Regions from separate parts of the Homo sapiens genome. Here regions 1, 2, 3 and 4 are each linked to region 5. Evidence: promoter capture Hi-C in human tissues and cell types (Jung and others, 2019). All regions are on one chromosome and are shown on one strand. Each heading gives the region's core, a stretch centred on a gene start or on the middle of the fragment in contact. The rest is flanking DNA. Distances are from core to core; before and after follow the strand shown. Region 1 overlaps VAT1L (vesicle amine transport 1 like). Region 2 overlaps WWOX (WW domain containing oxidoreductase). Region 3 overlaps WWOX (WW domain containing oxidoreductase). Region 4 overlaps WWOX (WW domain containing oxidoreductase). Region 5 holds the start of MAF (MAF bZIP transcription factor).

Region 1 (3,418 bases), core at 600-3,099, 1.7 Mb before region 5:
CATCTACAAGCCGAGGAGAAAGGCCTGGAATAGATCTTTCGCTCACATCCCTCAGAAGGAACCAACCCTGCCAACACCTTGATTTTAGACTTTGAGCCTCCAGAACTGTGAGAAAAGGAATTTCTGATGTTTAAGCCACTGGGTCAGTAGAACTTTGTTACAGCAGCACTAGGAAACTGACTTAGGGAGTAACTCATTCAGAGATGGCCACGAGTTAGGTTTTGGATCAGTTGAGTGTGATGTGTCGCTTTTGGGACAGCCAGGTGGAGACAAATGCCAAAACGATAGAGACCCAAGTCCAGGACTCAGTGGGCAGCTTGGGACCGGAGATTAACACATGCCAATCATTTTGGACACTCTGGCATTCATAGCACAGTGCAACCAGTACAGAATAGAAATTTGAAAAATAGTTGAATGAATAAATGAATATCCTATTTGCCTAAGGACAGAGGGCGAAGGGAATACAGGGAGACTGGAACTAATTGTAATTTCCCATCCCAGTAGTAAGAAGGTTATCTCAAGCGCTGTCCATAAGGAGCTATAACTATGACATATCTGAGGCCAGCAAATTTTAGAGAATTGCTGCATTGGTTGCTGATATTTACCCTCCCTAGAAAAGATAGTCCTCTCTTTGCTTTATAAAATCTAGAAGGCAGGAGAATTAAACAAGTATCAATGCTATTCTTAGGACAGAAAACTATAGCCTGTCCAGAGTCTCAGGTTCATGCCCATATTCTGAAATGTTGACCTCCAAGGGAGTGTGCCAGCAACATGTCTATTTTAGGTAGGAAGTTTAAAGCCTGCTTTGCTTAAAATGTCAAAATAAGTAGACAGCATAACAATGGAAAGTGGTAATAAGTGGAAACCAGGAGACCTTACTTTGAATCCCAGATTTGCCTCTGAAAAAGTGGGTAACCTTAACCTTTCTGAATGTCTTTTCCTTTATCTATAGAGCAGTCAGGGGAGGGGGTAATTGGATGATCTTCCAACTCTGACATTCTGTGATTCTCTCAGTGTTGCCTTTAATTGCAACGGGTGATAAGATGACATTTCCATAAATTGACCTGCCAACCTGATTTAGTCCGCCAGCATGAAGACATGAAAATAAGATGATAGGCAGAAATTAACATCACAGATGACGCTGGTAGAATATTTTCCCTCCTTAAAATGGCAGATGGAACACCAGAAAGAGACAACACTTGGCTTTAGAATGCACCTTAGTTACCAGAAAACTGGGTTTTACTGGAAAATGCCTGAATATACATGACCACAACATTTTGTCCAATGACTTCAAGTTTGACCATACTGAAAAACGATATGGAAAAATAAACCTGCTCCTAACTGCATTTGTGATTTCCCCTGGACCACTTAATATTTAAAACTTGTGTTGACCTCTTCTCTATATGCCTGGACATCTCGGCAATGGATATAATAAGCCCCTAAGGGGGAAAGGTAATTAGGATTTATTATCTAAGTGTCACATTTTGTGCCAGGTCTTTGACCTGTGTTGCAAAATACCTTATTTACACTTCCCTGTAGAAGATGCTGTCAGCCACATCCTATCTTTTCTGCACTTAACATGCCGAAGGTTGCTTAGGACTTCTGTCTGCTGTGGGAGCCCACTTGACTGGAAGAAGCCAGATAGGCACAAGAATTACTATTGCAGAAGCAGCCCTCAACAAGTATCAGATGCAAATGTGCTGGATAAATACTCCGGCTTCCTTGCTCATGGTTGGGATAACTCAGAGGCGTATTCTACACTTGCTCACAGGGTTCCCCAGAGGGATTGAGCTCCAGTTACACATGGTAGATATGGCCTTGATAACACATCTTTTATTGGCTGCCTTCTTTTACTGTCTTAATACCTTGTTATTTCCGGAGATCATTGTCCAGGTAAAATACCTACATCCAAATCGTTATCTTAGGTTCGGCTTCTGGGGTACCCAAACTAAGACATCTGCAAGAGCGCTGTGAAGTAGGTGGCATTGTAAGATATCAGTTTTTAAGTCTTGGTGCTTGGATTCGCCTGATTCCCATTGACTTTCCTCTATGCCAGTGATTCTTAACCACAGGACATTTTGTCCTTCCACCAAGGCGACACTTTGCAATGTCTGGATACATTTGTGGTTGTCACAACTGGGAGGATGCTACTGGCATGTAGTAGGTAGAGGCCTGGAGGGCTAAACATCTGACAATGCATAGTACAGTCTCCTACCACAAAGACTAATCCAACCTTAAAAAGGCCCCCCGGGCACAGTGGCTTGCGCCTGTAATCCTAGCACTTTAGGAGGCTGAGGCGGGTGGATTACCTGAGCTCAGGAGTTCGAGACCAGCCTGGGCAACACGGTGAAACCCCATCTCTACGAAAAATACAAAAAATTAACCGGGCATGGCAGCATGTGCCTGTAGTCCCAGCTACTTGGGAGGCTGAGGCAGGAGAATCGCTAGAACACAGGAGGTAGAGGTTGCAGTGAGCCGAGATCGCACCACTGCACATTGCACTCCAGCCTGAGTGACAGAGTGAGACTCCATCTCTAAAAAAAAAAAAAAAAAAAAAAAAGTCAATAGTGCCGATGGAGAAATCCTGCTCTACACCCAGCAAGACTGGCTATGATCTGGTGGCTCCTATGTGTGACATAGCTATTGTCTTTTCCTTCCAGGGTCAAGCTGTGGCTCAGCTGTGTTCCACTGTCCCCAACGTGACTGTCTTTGGAACAGCCTCTACTTTCAAGCATGAAGCAATCAAAGACTCTGTGACCCACCTCTTTGACAGAAATGCAGACTACGTGCAAGAAGTTAAAAGGTAAGATGTTTGCTTTTGAAAAAGCACCAGGCTGGCCCTTGCTCTGCTCTCAAAGAGCAGTAGCACTTATTTAAAAGAGGGATAATAATAATATGTAGCAAACATATATTGGGGGCTTAGTATTATTAGCTCTGTGCCAAATATTTCACACGCATTAGTTCATTTAATCCTCTTAACCTCACTATTATCACCAAGGAACGAATCGGCTAACTTGGAAAGTTAATGTATTAAAGTTACGCTAGCTCCTATTTGACCATCTTAACACATGGAAGTTTATTTCTCATTCATTCACATGATAGCTTAAGGTGGATATTTGGTGGATGATCTTCTGTAAGAGCATTCAGAGACCCAGGCTCTTTTCATCTTATGGTTCCACTATTGTCTTGGGTCTAAAGGTCCTTTGCTTCTAGCCAACAGATGGGCAGACAGCACCAAAGGGTCATGAATAGGAGGTTTTATGGGCCAGTCCCAGAAAGAACACACACCCTTCTCATAGTCTAGCACTACTGCTCAGGTCGTTGGCTACGCCTTACTGAAAGCAAACTGAGAAACCTTGTCATTGGGTGCACCCAGAAAGGCCTGGCACTGGCAGTAAAGGGTGGAGCCTGGAGTCAA
Region 2 (3,588 bases), core at 561-3,060, 1.2 Mb before region 5:
GAAAGGGCACTGGACGTGAGCATTTCCCTTGTAGTTGAGATGGGATTTGACATGACTTCCTGGTGGTGGCAAGACAAGAAAGTGGCAACCTGGGACAGTGGACCTCACAGCTCTCCTGCTAATGGTGCTGATGGCTAAGCTCAGCTCTTACCCTTGACCACTGGAACAACTTAGACATGTCACCAGCTTTCTGAGCCTGTCTCATTACGATGAAAATTGTGATACAGGTTAGTGTAAGGACCGACAATAATGCATATAACATCAATAATGATGGATATAGAATTTCTGCAGTTATTATAATCTGGCTCTCCAGTATGGTAGTCGTGGGCCACATGTGGCTATTGAGTTCTAAAAATGTGGCTAATAGAACTGAGGAAGTGAATTTTCAATTTGATTCCATGTTTGTTAATTCGAACTGAAAAACACCACGTGTGCCAAGTGGCTGCCATACTGGAGAGCGTGGTCAAATGACATGCCTAGCTCAGTGCCTTTCGCATGGGAGGTATGCAGTACTTCCTGCCACGATGGCTGTTACTCTTGTCGTTGTGAGCAGTGCCTTGGTCCCGATGATGATTCTCCAAAATGTAATCTCTGCTGACAGAACAAGAGTCTGCAAATTGGGAGTCTGGAAAGGGAAGAGAAGGGCTTTGTCCCTGGCCCCAAAGACTCAGGGAGAGGTTTACTGGCCAGGTAGAAAGGGCGTCCAGGTGAAGGGACCCTGGTTCAGTGATCTCCAACCTGCACGTCTCATTTGTGAGGAAGCCGTAGGGTGTGGACTTTTCTTGTTTCTGACCTTGAGTGATTAGAAAATAGCAGCTTTTATATGTCACAAATGGACTTTAGATAAGCATGAAGATGACGAAGACTGTGGAATATGTAGCTAAGAGTCTTACTAAAATCCTCTCTAGTGTATTTATATATTTAAGCGTTTGGTAGTACTTTTTTAGCCATCAGCGTTCTCTATATTAGGTTGATACAGAAGTTATTGAGGTTTTTGCCATTGAAAGTAATACGTCACTTCATGCAGAGGTGGAATTGGCGCTCTGAGCTTGCTTGTCAAATTCACAGGCATTCACTTTTCTTTCATAAACATTTAGGACTCTGTATTTAGGAGAGGAATCACTGTGAATGTAGACCTCGGGTTGGTCATTTTCCTAGTAAGATAGACCAGACTGACTGGAAAAGTCACCCTCTTGGGCTATCCTGCGTATGTGGCTCGGCATTGCTTCCGTCAGGATAATGCATCAGTTTCTTGGACAAAGGGTGCATTTCTGCTATTTGAATGCAGACATATTTTTGGATATAAGCCACGCAGTTGCATCCCATTTCTTCCGTAGGTAAAGGCTGGGTTTCTAATTGTGATTGAGAAGCTTAGCATAGATGCAATGTCCCTATCACCAGATGGCTAGTGTGCTCTGCCTTGTCTGCCTTTTACCTTAGAGAGGGTGCTTCCTTCTGACACGGGTATTGCTGGAGTACACATTCTGTTGCATGAGGTCAGGGGAGCAAGAAATACAACCCAGACTTGCGCTCGGAAGCCCTGCCTTCATTTCTTCTCTGTAGCTGGCTCCCTTAAGTATTAAACAGCAGTATTCTAATATCAACGTCCCTTTTTTATTTGCTGTGACTTGCTGTGACTACGGTGATTTTAGTTACAGTAATTAGGTCACTCTTCATGGAGTCGGGCTATTTTAAGTGCCTCTTTAAGGAATATTGTTGCAGATCAGTAATTTTACAATTGGATGTTCTTGTGCAACTTTATTAAATGTGATCTGTCTTTTAAATGTTGCCCTTTTACAGTTACACATTTCTAATTGTTGCTGTAAATGCATTATCACTTTGAAATTAATTAATTTTTCCATTTTGGCTGCCTGCAATATAATAATCACTAATGAGAAACTCACAGGAATCAATTCTCAGCACAGCGGCCCCTACTGGTAAAGCCATGTCTCTGCCTCCCTCTTCTTCTTCAGATCCAGAGAACTGGACAAGTGTATTGGGGCGTCCTGGGAGGGAAGTGTTTGTTTCTTCCTCCCTTCAATTTATGGTGAAATAAAAATCACAGATAAACTTGGAAAGTGAGTTATTTTTAAGTGTCGTTCTAAAAAAGATGCAATATACTTCAAATAGCTGCTTCTAAAATATGTTAAAGGAAACTAACATTTGCTGAGTACTTTCTAATAATGAAGTCACATCATACGTGCATTACATGTTTATTTTCTTGACTCTAGAGCATTCTTTTATGCAGTTAAATTACTCTAAAATGTTTTGCACCTGCACGCATTAATGTGTATTGTTTGGTAAGAACTTTCGAGTTGGTGAAAAAATGTATTGTATTTTAGTATCTATATTTATATATACATATTAGTCTATGGGTTTTAATTCACAAAACCAGGTGTTGTATCTGGTGCACATAAGGGATTTTCAAGGCTAATCTTGGGTTTTTGCAGTTGTAACCATGTGTGATGACTTTAGAATCCTACCACACTTCCAAATAGAGATGCAGATTGACCATTTTCCCAGATACCACGATGCTTTATGTATCAGCATATATTTTCATTAATTTCTCATAATTTCTGTTAGAATTAATAATTCCAAGTTCTACAATCTTAGAATTATTATCTTTATTTTGTAATTGAAAAGCACAGAAACCTCATGCAGCGTGTTCAAGAAAATGATATACCAGCCTTGTAAACTTTCACTTGCTAATTGCAGCTGCATTTGCTTTGTCCAATGCACGGTAATGCCCCTGGCATCCATATCTAGTTATGCAGTTATGCTTCCTTTTTAAAATGTTTGACAGCACCTTCACTGAAATGAATGCTGCCACCACCGCCAACCCCACCTTTTTTTTTTCCACATAAGCTTTCATTTCTGGTAAATACATCCTTGCCAGAGTTCCCAGGTCCAAGCCGGTCCTTTGTGGACCAGTATGCAGATTTGAAGTTGAGCACTGTCACTTGCCTCTTAGGAGTGTTTTGTGCAACCACATATTTGTGTTGGCAGATAACAGTAGAAAGAATATCATGTGTTAGGGTAGCAAGAGCTTAGCAGATGTTTTAGGGAACTGCATTTTCAAATCATTTTACATTAAAAAATGGCTTACGTTTATGGAACTTCTGCGACGATCGGGTTACGTTTCCTGTGCCCGTGTAAAGCCAGTCATCGTGCTGAGTTTTAACGGATGTGCAGCTACCCTGCTAATGGATGGGCCGGCAATGCTGGTCCTGTTGCAAAGTTATAAATTATAACTAGAAAAAGCACAAGATGTCATTCTTCTAACCTTCGTGAAAGCCAAACGGGGTAATTCTGCCCTTGAATAACCCGCTGCAGGGTGATTTATAGTTGTACAATTTAAAACGTAATGAAGGAGATAATAGATGTTGATTTGTTCCTGAAATTAGTATTTTAGAAAAATACTTCTCCCCCTTTCCATCTTTAAATACCTGCAGCTGACTACACTATAGATACTATCAAGGGCAAAGCCCCCTGTTTGAATGTGTATTGGTACATTGGTGTATCACATACAAGGCAGAGGGTGTATAAAACAGGCTTTCTGTTGCGAGGGGGAAATATGGTTTTCAAAGT
Region 3 (3,448 bases), core at 346-2,845, 1.1 Mb before region 5:
CTCTCAACGTCAGGTGATCCATCCTCCTCAGCCTCCCAAAGTGCTGGGATTGCAGGCTTGAGCCACCGTGCCCACCTGTGTTTTTTGTTTTGTTTTTGTGTATGTGCCAATGATGACCCAGTTTCAATACCAACTGTTGCTTTCACCACCCACTATTGGTTTCACCACCCCGCTAGATCACAGTCTGTTCTTTGGCAGTCACTGCCCCAATACTGTTTGATGTGCTCCCCTCTGATAAATGTTCATTGAGTGCCCCACATGTCAGGTACTGACTTAAGGCATAGCAAATGCAAAAATGAGCAAGGTGTTCTCTTGGCTCTATGGGTGCCTACCTTAGAAGGATGGAGATGGGAAGAATGTGAAAGGGAGGTGAGATGAGCAGCACTGGGATGTGTGGCTTTTCTGTCTTGAGGATAGATAGAAGAGGAGTCAGATAAAGTTGCAGAACAGAGATGACGTCTTTACTGAGACTTGAATGATGTGTCGGAGGCAAACATGTTGACACAAACGAGAGAATTTTAGGTTCTCTTTGTAGCTGTGGCTGGGCTGGGACAAGGACGATGGACAAAGTTATGGGGGTGCTAAAAACCTCAGTAATGAAGATAAATGATATTCTAATCTAATATTTTAAAAAATCGAGGCTAGGTGTGGTGGCTCATGCCTGTGATTCCAGCATTTTGGGAGGCCAAGGTGGACGGATCACCAGAGTTCAGGAGTTTGAGACCAGCCTGGCCAAAATGGTGAAATGCCATCTCTACTAAAAACACAAAAATTAGCTGGGTGTGTGGTAGTGTGTGCCTGTAGTCCCAGCTACTCTGGATGCTGAGGCACGAGAATTGCTTGAACCTGGGAGTAGGAGGCTGCAGTAAGCTGAGATCATGCCACTGCACTCCAGCCTGGGTTAACAGAGCAAGACTCTGTCTCAAAAAAAAAAAAAAAAAAAAAAAAAAATCAAAATTGATGCAAAAAATATGATAACATTTCAAAATTTAAATCAAGACAAATTCAATATTATAGCAAAGGTTCAAGTAATGAACATGAATTTGTAATGATGCCTGGGGGAGGTGAAGGTTAAAAAAAAAAAAAAGGCCACCAAGGACCTCATGTTAAAGTTGATGATGACGGAAGTGAGCAGTGATGATGAGATTTAAAAAACTAACTTTTATTTTTACATTATTTTAACTAGTATTTGTGTTAACATTATTTTAATCTCCTGTGCACTTAAGGGAGCTGGCATAGGCCGGCAGTGGCTATAGGCCAGGACCTGTGCTATGTAGCTTATCTATTTCTCATGCTGATTCTACTTTTGTTACTACCGAAGGAGCTTAGAGGGAATCAGTGACGTGGACAAGGCTATGTAACTAAAGGGGGTGGAGGAGGATTCAAGCCCCTTGCAACGGACTGAAGTGCCCAAGCTCTAAATCCCTGCCACCCACAGCCTCTGTTGGCCCCAGGTTGTGTCTGAGATTCAGAGGTTGTTTTTATAGCAGCAACACAGTAAGTTGGGAAGAGGGACACATTTTTAACATAGACACCAAAAGAGAGGCTGGAAGAGTTGACCACTTAGAAATGTCACGAGTGTCTGTGAATAGTGTTGGGGGCTGAGAGGCAAGAGAAGAAAATAGTCCTAATGTTGTACAAGTAGCAATGGAAACAAACTTGTTAAAAAAAATTTAATTTTGTTTATGCATGTGTGCATAAACAAAGCAATAGAAAATATTTGATATTTAAGATTGAGCACTTAACAAAATACTTTGTCTCTTTTTGGTTTGCTGTCTTAAGCAATAGCCTTAAATTCTTGTCCCAGGGATACCTGATAGAGCTAATATAGAACAATATTTTAACATAATTTGAAGTATTTTTTTCTTCTGATGGGTATGTAGTTCATTTTTATAAAAAAATTTAAAAATTCTGAATCTGTGGTGTTTCTGAAACATCCTGATATATTTTTTGTTGATGACTCTTAACAAAGGATGTAAGACAGATTCTAAGAAGAGAAAAGGTAGAATATCCACATGTCTCAGTTTCATAATATGTGTAAAAATTATCATGCCCATTCATTATTTAAAGTGCTGTGGCTTTTTAGTGAATACCAACATTAACAAACCATGTTAACATGATTTAAAATATGTAATGAAATTTGCAATGCATCAGATGATGGAACTATCAAATTAGTTCACGTGGCGTTGGCTGATCACCCTTATGAAGAGTTACTTGCATTGTTTGAAGAGGGAAGATGCACATCCCCTTGTGGGCTGGCAGCATTTTTGCTAACACTGCCTTAAATGATGCTACTGGCAGGATGGTTAATTTGATGTTGAAATGTCACACAATATGTGCCCACCCTACGATTTGAATCTTCTGTGCCGTTAAGGGAATTGGCAGTGTTCAGACAGAATGGTAACATTCTCTCTGATCGTGTCTGTGTCTGCACCCTTTTTTGTTTTGTTTCTGTTGTCTTCATTAATAGACCTTTCAGGAACCTTCCTGGGATCTCAGATAACAGTTCTTCTGGAACAGGATTATCCAGAGGTAGCAAAAGCTCTCCTGCAAATATTCCATTGCACGACTTTAAATAAAGCAGCAAGAAGTCTTTTCATTCAGTTCAGATTTGCTACTTGTTCTCTTGGTTCCTTCAAAGTAATGACTAAGTACAGGTCTTTAGATAGAGAGCTGCACCAACCAGGTATTGCTTCGTGTCTTCCACGTACGTCCTGAGAAAGCGAAGGTGAATTTCACCAATTGGTAGGTGGAAATAGAAAAACTGTTGATTCTTTTTTTCATTCACCAATCTTTTTTTTCCCCAAATGCTAAGCTTTATTTGGGGAAATCTTAACAGCCGTTTTTATAAGACTCTGCATTTACAACATTTGTGGGGGCTGCAGAGGACGCACATGAAAATAACATGAACTGGCCATGTACGGTGGCTCATGCCTGTAATCCCAGCACTTTGGGAGGCCGAGGCAGGTGGATCACCTGAGGTCAGGAGTTCGAGACCAGCTTGGCCAACATGGTGAAACCTCATCTCTACTAAAAATACAAAAATTATAGCTGGGCGTGGTGGCGGGCGCCTGTAGTCCCAGCTACTTGGGAGGCTGAGGCAGGAGAATGGCCTGATCCCGGGAGGCGGAGCTTTCAGTGAGCCAAGATCGCCCTACTGCACTCCAGCCTGAGCGTGAGACTCTGACTCAAAAAAAAAAAAAAAAAAATTAGCTGGGCGTAGTGGCAGGTGCCTGTAATCACAGCTATCCAGAGGCTGAGGCACCAGAACTGCCTGAACCTGGGAGGCGGAGGTTGCAGTGAGCCAAGATGGTGCCACTGCACTCCAGCCTGGGTGACAAAAAAAAAACTTTACCTGGGCTTAGTAAGTTGCCTGACTTCTCATCCTGGAGTTCGTATCCCCTTGTTTCTAGAAGAGAAATCCCTCAGATGTGAAGGTGTGTTCCAT
Region 4 (3,292 bases), core at 611-3,110, 1.1 Mb before region 5:
AGGGAAAGGGGACGACAGAAGAACCCTTAGAAGTAAGACTTTTTCTGTCTCTGATGCCACGGACCTTTGAAATATTTTTTTGAAAAGAAGGCCTCCCTTGGCTGATACCTTCTGACTGTTAGTGAATAAAGGAAGTTTAAACAATCTCTTCCCTGTAATCATTAATCTCGTCTTCTTTGTTACAATGTATGTTGTGGTCTTTGTTACAATGTATGTTCACGAATTCCTAGAACACTGTTCCCGTTGGCCATGGGATCAGGGGAAGAGAGAAGGAAGAGAGAACCAGACACAAGTTGGAGGGAATCCATCTCCAGTGCTGCTCAGAGGTATGACCTAGAGCAAGGGGTTTAGGCTTTCTTGGACTCATTTTCCTCGGTGGTGAAGTGGGGATAATTTATTGACAGTGGACCGTGAGGTTCTGCGCACAAAATTCGTTGCATAGCACCTGATACACACAAAGCTTTCAGGCAAGGTTAGTTTCGGGTATTTCCAGCCTTAGTCTTGGCTGTGGGAGCCATAATGGAGTTGTTCAGAAGTTTACAGCTAGTGTTTATAAATTGCTTGCCATGGGGCCTTGTATACAGTAAGCATTCATTAAGTGTTCCCTCCTATTATATCCTTAGGTTTAAGATACAGGCACCACAACATAAACCACCCCCAGAGTACACATGCATGGGTGTAATTTGGTGCCATTCTCCTCCCTTTTGCCCCCACCAAAATGAAGTTTTTAGTGTAAATGTCATGTAGATTTTAACCAAAGGTTGATTGGAGGGTCTGAGTTTCTCAGCTAAATGAAGGCATGAGGACTGTATCCCTCCTGAAGGGTGTGATCAGTTCCATGAGAAAGAAGCTGCGAGCTGTGGGGCATCCAAGATAATGTAATCTGCCCCGGGGTCCTGTGAGGGACTGGCCGACAAGGCAGGCTGAATGCAGCCTTGCCCACTGAGCTGGGTTCTCTCTGCTTTAGGTCCTCTCTGGAGGTGAAGAGGGAAGTCCGCTGATTGTTTTTCTCTTGGTGCAACTTCGCACCACCCTTACATATCCCAGTGTATATGGTAGCCAAGGACAGTACTGTTTGAGCCTCCCCCATTAAGTGTCAACATTGAATCAATGCAATCCCATGCAAAGAAAGCTGAGCATGGGATTGTGCCGGTTTAGCCAGCTAAAGTGTGGTCTCTGATGCTGATCATGACTATGAAAAGGGAAAATGGAGGAGAATGATGACGAAGGAGGAGGAGGAGGAAAAGGTGACTTGCCTCTAGCTGATGTGGATTATTTCTCTTTTTTAATTTCCATGTCTGTGTAGCTTCATCATAGATCTCAGCTTAAGGACAATGAAAGTCGTTTATTGAGTACTTAGTATGTGCTGGTTGCAGAGCCAAGTCTTTTTTTTTTTTTTTTTTTTCCTCCTTTTTTGAGAGAGAGAGTCTCACTCTGTCACCCAGACTGGATTGCAGTGGCACAATCTCAACTGACTGCAACGTGCACCTCTCAGGTTCAAGCAATTATCAGGCCTCAACGTCCTGAGAAGCTGGGACTACAGGCATGTACCACCACACTCAGCTAATATTTGTATTTTTAGTAGAGGCGGGGTTTTGCCATGTTGTCCAGGCTGGTCTTGAACACCTGACCTCAGGTGATCTGCCTGCCTCAGCCTCCCAAAGTGCTGGGATTACAGGGGTGACCCACCACACCCAGCCAGAGTCAAGTATTTCAAGTATTAGAGTTGTCTGCCTGCCTCCCTGTCTCCCTGCCTTCCTTCCATCTGTTTGTTATCTGACTTAATCTTTGAAATAACCCAATGATACATGATATGCATTTTCTAGGTAGATAGATGAAGGGTTAGGAAGATGTAACTTGTCCTAAATCACGTGTCTTCTAAGCGGTGGAACTGATTTTCTCACTGACTATAGATGTTGAGCCCATTAATGTGATACCTACTGCCTTTTAATTTTAAAAGTTCTCATTGTTTTATCGTTTTCATCATTATCATATGATTTACCTCTTCTCTTGTGTCTTATAATCCGATTGGTCATGCTGACATACTAAACCATATTGTTTGCCACTGGGAACCAATTCATCTGTGAAAAGTCATACAGATAGGCTCGAAGAAAGAGCTTGGTTGTGATGTTGTTGTTGTGACAACTGTCTCGGGGGCTGGAGTTAGAGCCAGGGTCCCAGCTGCCACAGTTCATGTAGGGGTAGACCAGTGCTTCCTTTTGGGTGATGAGGAAGCTGGATTTGGCAGCTGGTTTTGTCTGGATTTGAAAGGGAGGTAATCAGGGGTGTGCTGGGAGGGCCAGAACGATCCACCCACGTGTTGGTGCCACCCGGCAGTGGAAAAGCCTCTGGCCTCGGCCTTCTCCGGAAGGTTGTCCGCGGTGCCAGTGAGAGCTGCTTTTCACCTTACAGCAGCCCCGGCCTATCTCTCAGGAGGCCTGCTGATAATCAGTAAATGAAATTCACCTTTCCCCGATTCTTGAAAACGGAAAAGATGAGGGTTGAATTATAGGGCAAATCATGAACACTGTCTTTTTTCCAGCATGGTATTTTGAGCGGCACAGAAGGGGGTAATTATTTTATTTGGAAGAACAAATTTAAGTTTGGCAGTTACCTGAAAGAAAATTTAGTGATTGCCAGTCCATTCTCTAGCCTTCTGAAGAAGATAGATTGTAATCTTTAATTAAGCTATCACTCACACCAAAAAAAAAAAAAAAAAAAAAAAAAAAAGCGGGGCAAGGGGTTGGAGAATGTTCATATCACATTATTTTGGATGTCTGGGGTTGCACCTGGAAGCTCAGATAGCAATATCTAGGCACGGCTGCCAGCGCTCTATACATTGACGTTTGTTTAATATTTTAATTTCCCCATGAGTCTTAAACCTCTGCGTGGTGTGCAAGTTGAGGCCTGGTGTATGCACTTCGGCCACGGGCTTTCCCACTGTAATGAAGATGGAATGACTCCATGGATGACCTTTCCGTGCCTTTGTCTGTAGCCTGCCCTCCTCTTTAACTGAACACCTTCCAGACGAGCATGCTCTGAACTCCTGAACTGCTCATTCTGTTCTCTGAGAGAATTGCTCAAGCTGCAGTTTATCATTATATGCCTCCAAAGACTTTGTGTTTCCTATGTTTGACATCGAGATAGAATTTTTCATAACCCTTTACTAGTAATAAATTTGATTGTTAAGGGACCAGGTTAATCTTATTTCTAATACCAGCATCTGATTTTAAAACCCTGATTTAGGAGCATTTTCTTTCTGCTACCTTCCTAAAACGCATGGGTGGAAATG
Region 5 (3,819 bases), core at 42-2,541:
TGCCGCCCAAGGAGGCGCCGGCACCGGCCCCGGCCGCCGCGGCCAGCTGCTGCGCCCCGCGCGCGTAGCCATCGAAGCCGCCCTGGAGCTGGTGGCTGTTGCTGATGAGCGCCTCGACCGCGTCCTCGGGGCTGAAGCCCAGCGCCTCGGGGTTCAGCTGCTGCGGGTAGCCGGTCATCCAGTAGTAGTCTTCCAGGTGCGCCTTCTGCTCGCTGCCCGAGCCCGGGCTGGGCGCCGAGAAGCTGGGGGAAGGGGGCACCGAGCTGCACGGCGTGCTCATGGGGGTGGAGGACAGCGAGCCCCCGGCGATGAGACGGCCGCACTGGCTGATGATGCGGTCGGTCTCCACCGGTTCCTTTTTCACTTCAAACTTCATCAGATCGAAGTCATTAACATATTCCATGGCCAGGGGACTGGTGGGCAGGTCGGAGTTGCTCATTGCCAGTTCTGATGCCATTCTCCTGCCGCCGCCGCCGCCGCCGCCGCCGCTCCGCCAGATGGGCTGCAGGAGAGGGGCCAGCGGGCTGTGCTGGGTGGCCAGCGGGTGAGCCAGCTTGCCGGGCTGGGGCGCTTCTAGCTTGCGCGGCGGTGGCTGGCCCGAAACCTCCGAGCGCGCTCACACACACACCCCCCCGCCCTGCCCGCGCCCCCCGCGCCCGCCCTCCCTCCCCCCTGCTCACGCCAATGTGCTCCCTCGCTCGCCCCGGCCCCTCCTTGCTCGCTCGCCTCCTTGCGCGCCGAGCCGGCGGCTTCAGGCTCGGGAAGATCCTCCGCGAGCTGCGGTGGCGGCGGTGGTGGCTGCGGCGGCGAAGCTGGAGGAGCCCGGCCCGGTGCGCGGCGTCCCCCGCTCGCCGCTCCGCTGCGCGCTTTGCATAAGGAAGGGCTCGCCTCGCCGGCCCGGGCTGCAGGCAGGGCGCGCGCGGCGTCCGCTCGGGGCTGGAGGCGCGGCGGGCGTCTGTCCGGGCGGCGCGGGCCTTGGCACGGGGGAGTTAACACTTCATGCTTCTCGCCTCCTCTTCTGCTTGGCTCTCTTTATTATTTTTTTTCTTTCCTCTCTCTCCCTCGCGCGCTCTCTACCTCTGTGCAAAGTGCAAGGCAGAGGTGCAGCCCGACTGGAGGAGAGGGAGGGGGGAGTTTAGTTCTTTCTTGCCTTTTTTTAAAAAAGCAAAATAGCGAAGTCCTGGGGAAAGACGAGGCAGAGAGCAAAGGGGGGAGGGGGAGGCCAAGCCGACAAGCAGCCCGAGCTACAGCTAGAAGATGAAAAAAGATTTTAAAGCCTCTGATCCAGCAAGAAGAGTTTAAAGCAATTGCTGAGTTTTATAGCACTCGTGACGTCAGGTCCAAATGAGAAATTGACTGGCACTCCGGGCCAATGGGAGGCGGCGAGAGCGGCCGCGATTAGCATAATAGTATAGAAACAAGGAAACTTTTCGGAGCTGTCAATCAGGGCCCAATCAGCTGACTGTCAGCTGGGACGGGCTGGCTTAACCCTTCCTGCGCCGCTGCCTACCCGGGAGGGAACGAGGCCCGGCGCAAAGTTTGGTGTAAGAGGGGAAGGAGTTTTTCCAGAGGGGCTTCGGCAATCCGGGCGGACCTGGGAGGGCGGTTTGCTTTTCTTTGGAGCGCGAGACAGGCCTCCCATCCGGAGCCCCAGCTCGCTGGGGGCTCACTCGGCTGGGATTGGCCTGATTCCCCTCCCCTGCCTGCCCTCCACCCCCAGGATTGTGAATTCGCCTCCCAGCTTTTCCTCCTCGCACCAACTCTGGTACCCAGGTGTCTGCCGGGGACCTTCCTTCCCTGAGCCTGGCCGTGCCCGGCGCTCAAACTTGGCCCCAACTCTTTGTCCGTCTCTCGGGCGCCCGTGCGGGGAAGGGACCGGGAAGGGAGGGATGCAGTGGGGTGTCCGGATCGGGGCTGCGGGCTGGGCGCCGCCCGGCCATGCGCCTGCCCAGAAGGCTGGGCATCCGTGGAGAGGGAAAGCCCATTTTATCCCTCTCTTTACAACGAGGTAAAATAAGTTGTTTAGAGGCCATTCTTCACGGAGACCGGCTGCCCGCTGGCGTCGCGTGCCCTTGGACAGAGCGAGCGCCTATGCGAGATAACTCCGGGGAAGCTCAAAGTCAGGTCAGCCGGGCTCAGCCTTCCGGCTCCTGACTGGCCGGAGTTTGGCCTTTGAGACTCATATTGCGCGCTCGCTCTCTCTCTCTCTTACACACACACACACAAACACACACACACTCACACTCACCCGTCCCCTTACGAAATCTGACCTCTGTTTATCAGGGTCAGGCGCGCCCTTTGCACTTTTACGTTTCCTTTAATTATTTCGGACTTGATCGTGGCAGGGAGCAAGGGGGAAAAACAATACCCCAGCCCTCACCAGCTACCCTCGAAGGGTTAAATTTTAAACCGCGGTTTCTGGAACTAGTCCGGAAACGCAGAGTGGGGGGTGGGGTGGGGGAGGCTGCTCCCCCCACCCCCAGTTGCAAATGCTAATAAGTAGTTCAAATTTCTAGATTGATTCTCTAAAAGTTTATGCAAAAAAGAAATAAAAAAGAAAAAGAAAAAAGAAGGAAACCAACAACTAACTCTGTTTCTAAGATTTTAAAGCGATAGGCAAGTCGAAGAAGCAGAGATTTATTTGGAGAGAAAGCTCCTGAAACCGACCCAGCCTTTGGAAGACCAGCCCGTCTGCTTAGAAGTTGGGACTGTTGATTCCTTCAATTAATGAAATGCATTTGGTGTTTTTAATCGTATTTATTTTACTTTATGAGAAGGGGGAGACGCTAGGAGGGTGCATTAAAAAAAAAAAAAAATTCTGAAAAGCCTGCAAAAGGATCGAAGAGTGGAAACTATTGTTGGAGCGAGTTGGTTTTTACCTCAACAGCGCCACCTTTCGGCAAAGGTCAGTTGAAATTGATCCGTGTCCAGTTTTGTCGATGAAGTGAAAAGCAGCTGGTTACCCAGTGTGGGAGGAGGAAAGAGACACACAAAGTTAGTTTGACTGAAGTGGGAGAACCCGACCCTATAGGAAAGGGGCCGAAGAAAGTGCTGGCAGATGCAGAGATCATTTTTGCCCCTCCTCTTCTCCTTGATTGTTGACAAAGAGGCCAGGGGATACAGACACCCTCGGGGTGTAATTTCTGGCTGAGACCTTTGCAAGAGGATCCCCATGTAACAGGGCCCCAAACCCTTTAAAAGTGCCAGGATGGATTTTCAACGGGCTTTATGGCAATATCAATAGGATTAAAGTTACTTGTAATTCAGTGATAAATGAGATGTCTCTAGTAAGTAAGATTAAGTGCAGTGCTATAAAGTTGTTTATCTGGAAAGTAATTCTCAGAAAACCTGACTTCTGACACTTAGTCATATATTAAGCCAGCGTCTTGAACATTGCACTTCAGAATGGTCTTCCCCACCCCGCAGCATGCTTTGCTATTTATAACCTCAGGTGTCTCTCACTCGTTCCTTGCACCATATTAGACCTGTGTTAATTTCTCTGATCCTAGTAGACTTCAGTTTCAGCAAACCCAGGAATCCTTAATGGAAGACTTCCCAAAAGATTCGTAGGCACACCCTAATCTGAAAAGGGCAGCGCTGTCGGTATTTTTCAGACAAGTAGTGTTTCTTTTCATCGTGACTGCAGAGAAGTTGTTAATAAGGGTAGTTTTGGTCTTATAAGAGCATTTTGTTGGGTGGAATAAACTATGTCTATTACCAGTTTGGGGAAGAAAGAGTGAAGATTATGTCAATATTTATGCAACCTAGCAGAATTCCCTTGCTTTCCTTCTCTTTAACAATATTTTCCCTAGTAATGAA

What was found. Contacts are between HindIII fragments. The study calls those that stand out against the background at their distance.
Region 1: a contact is called between a fragment that was not itself captured here and the fragment with the promoter of MAF in region 5, in 1 of the 25 tissues and cell types used here (aorta).
Region 2: a fragment that was not itself captured here is called in contact with the fragment with the promoter of MAF in region 5 in 1 of the 25 tissues and cell types used here (dorsolateral prefrontal cortex).
Region 3: a contact is called between a fragment that was not itself captured here and the fragment with the promoter of MAF in region 5, in 1 of the 25 tissues and cell types used here (hippocampus).
Region 4: a contact is called between a fragment that was not itself captured here and the fragment with the promoter of MAF in region 5, in 2 of the 25 tissues and cell types used here (dorsolateral prefrontal cortex and mesendoderm cells).

The regions. Positions count from the first base shown.
Region 1 is chr16:77,860,088-77,863,505 of GRCh38, forward strand. VAT1L (vesicle amine transport 1 like) reads left to right here. Exons shown (of 9, transcript NM_020927.3): 4 at 2,661-2,803. Among named protein-coding and RNA genes, the nearest start is that of VAT1L, 73 kb to the left of the region's middle. The HindIII fragment of the contact is 6,734 bases long and covers 1-3,418 here.
Region 2 is chr16:78,435,614-78,439,201 of GRCh38, forward strand. All of the region lies in intron 8 of WWOX (WW domain containing oxidoreductase), which reads left to right. Among named protein-coding and RNA genes, the nearest start is that of WWOX-AS2, 63 kb to the right of the region's middle. The HindIII fragment of the contact is 3,131 bases long and covers 246-3,376 here.
Region 3 is chr16:78,454,720-78,458,167 of GRCh38, forward strand. All of the region lies in intron 8 of WWOX (WW domain containing oxidoreductase), which reads left to right. Among named protein-coding and RNA genes, the nearest start is that of WWOX-AS2, 44 kb to the right of the region's middle. The HindIII fragment of the contact is 4,031 bases long and covers 1-3,448 here.
Region 4 is chr16:78,535,517-78,538,808 of GRCh38, forward strand. The region is part of intron 8 of WWOX (WW domain containing oxidoreductase); the gene reads left to right. Among named protein-coding and RNA genes, the nearest start is that of WWOX-AS2, 37 kb to the left of the region's middle. The HindIII fragment of the contact is 5,244 bases long and covers 1-3,292 here.
Region 5 is chr16:79,599,446-79,603,264 of GRCh38, forward strand. MAF (MAF bZIP transcription factor) reads right to left here and starts at 1,292. Exons shown (of 2, transcript NM_005360.5): 1 at 1-1,292. The coding sequence starts at 457. LOC101928230 (a long non-coding RNA gene) reads left to right here and starts at 1,442. Exons shown (of 3, transcript NR_188556.1): 1 at 1,442-1,544; 2 at 2,602-2,905. RefSeq lists an enhancer at 1,207-1,501. The HindIII fragment of the contact is 24,643 bases long and covers 1-3,819 here.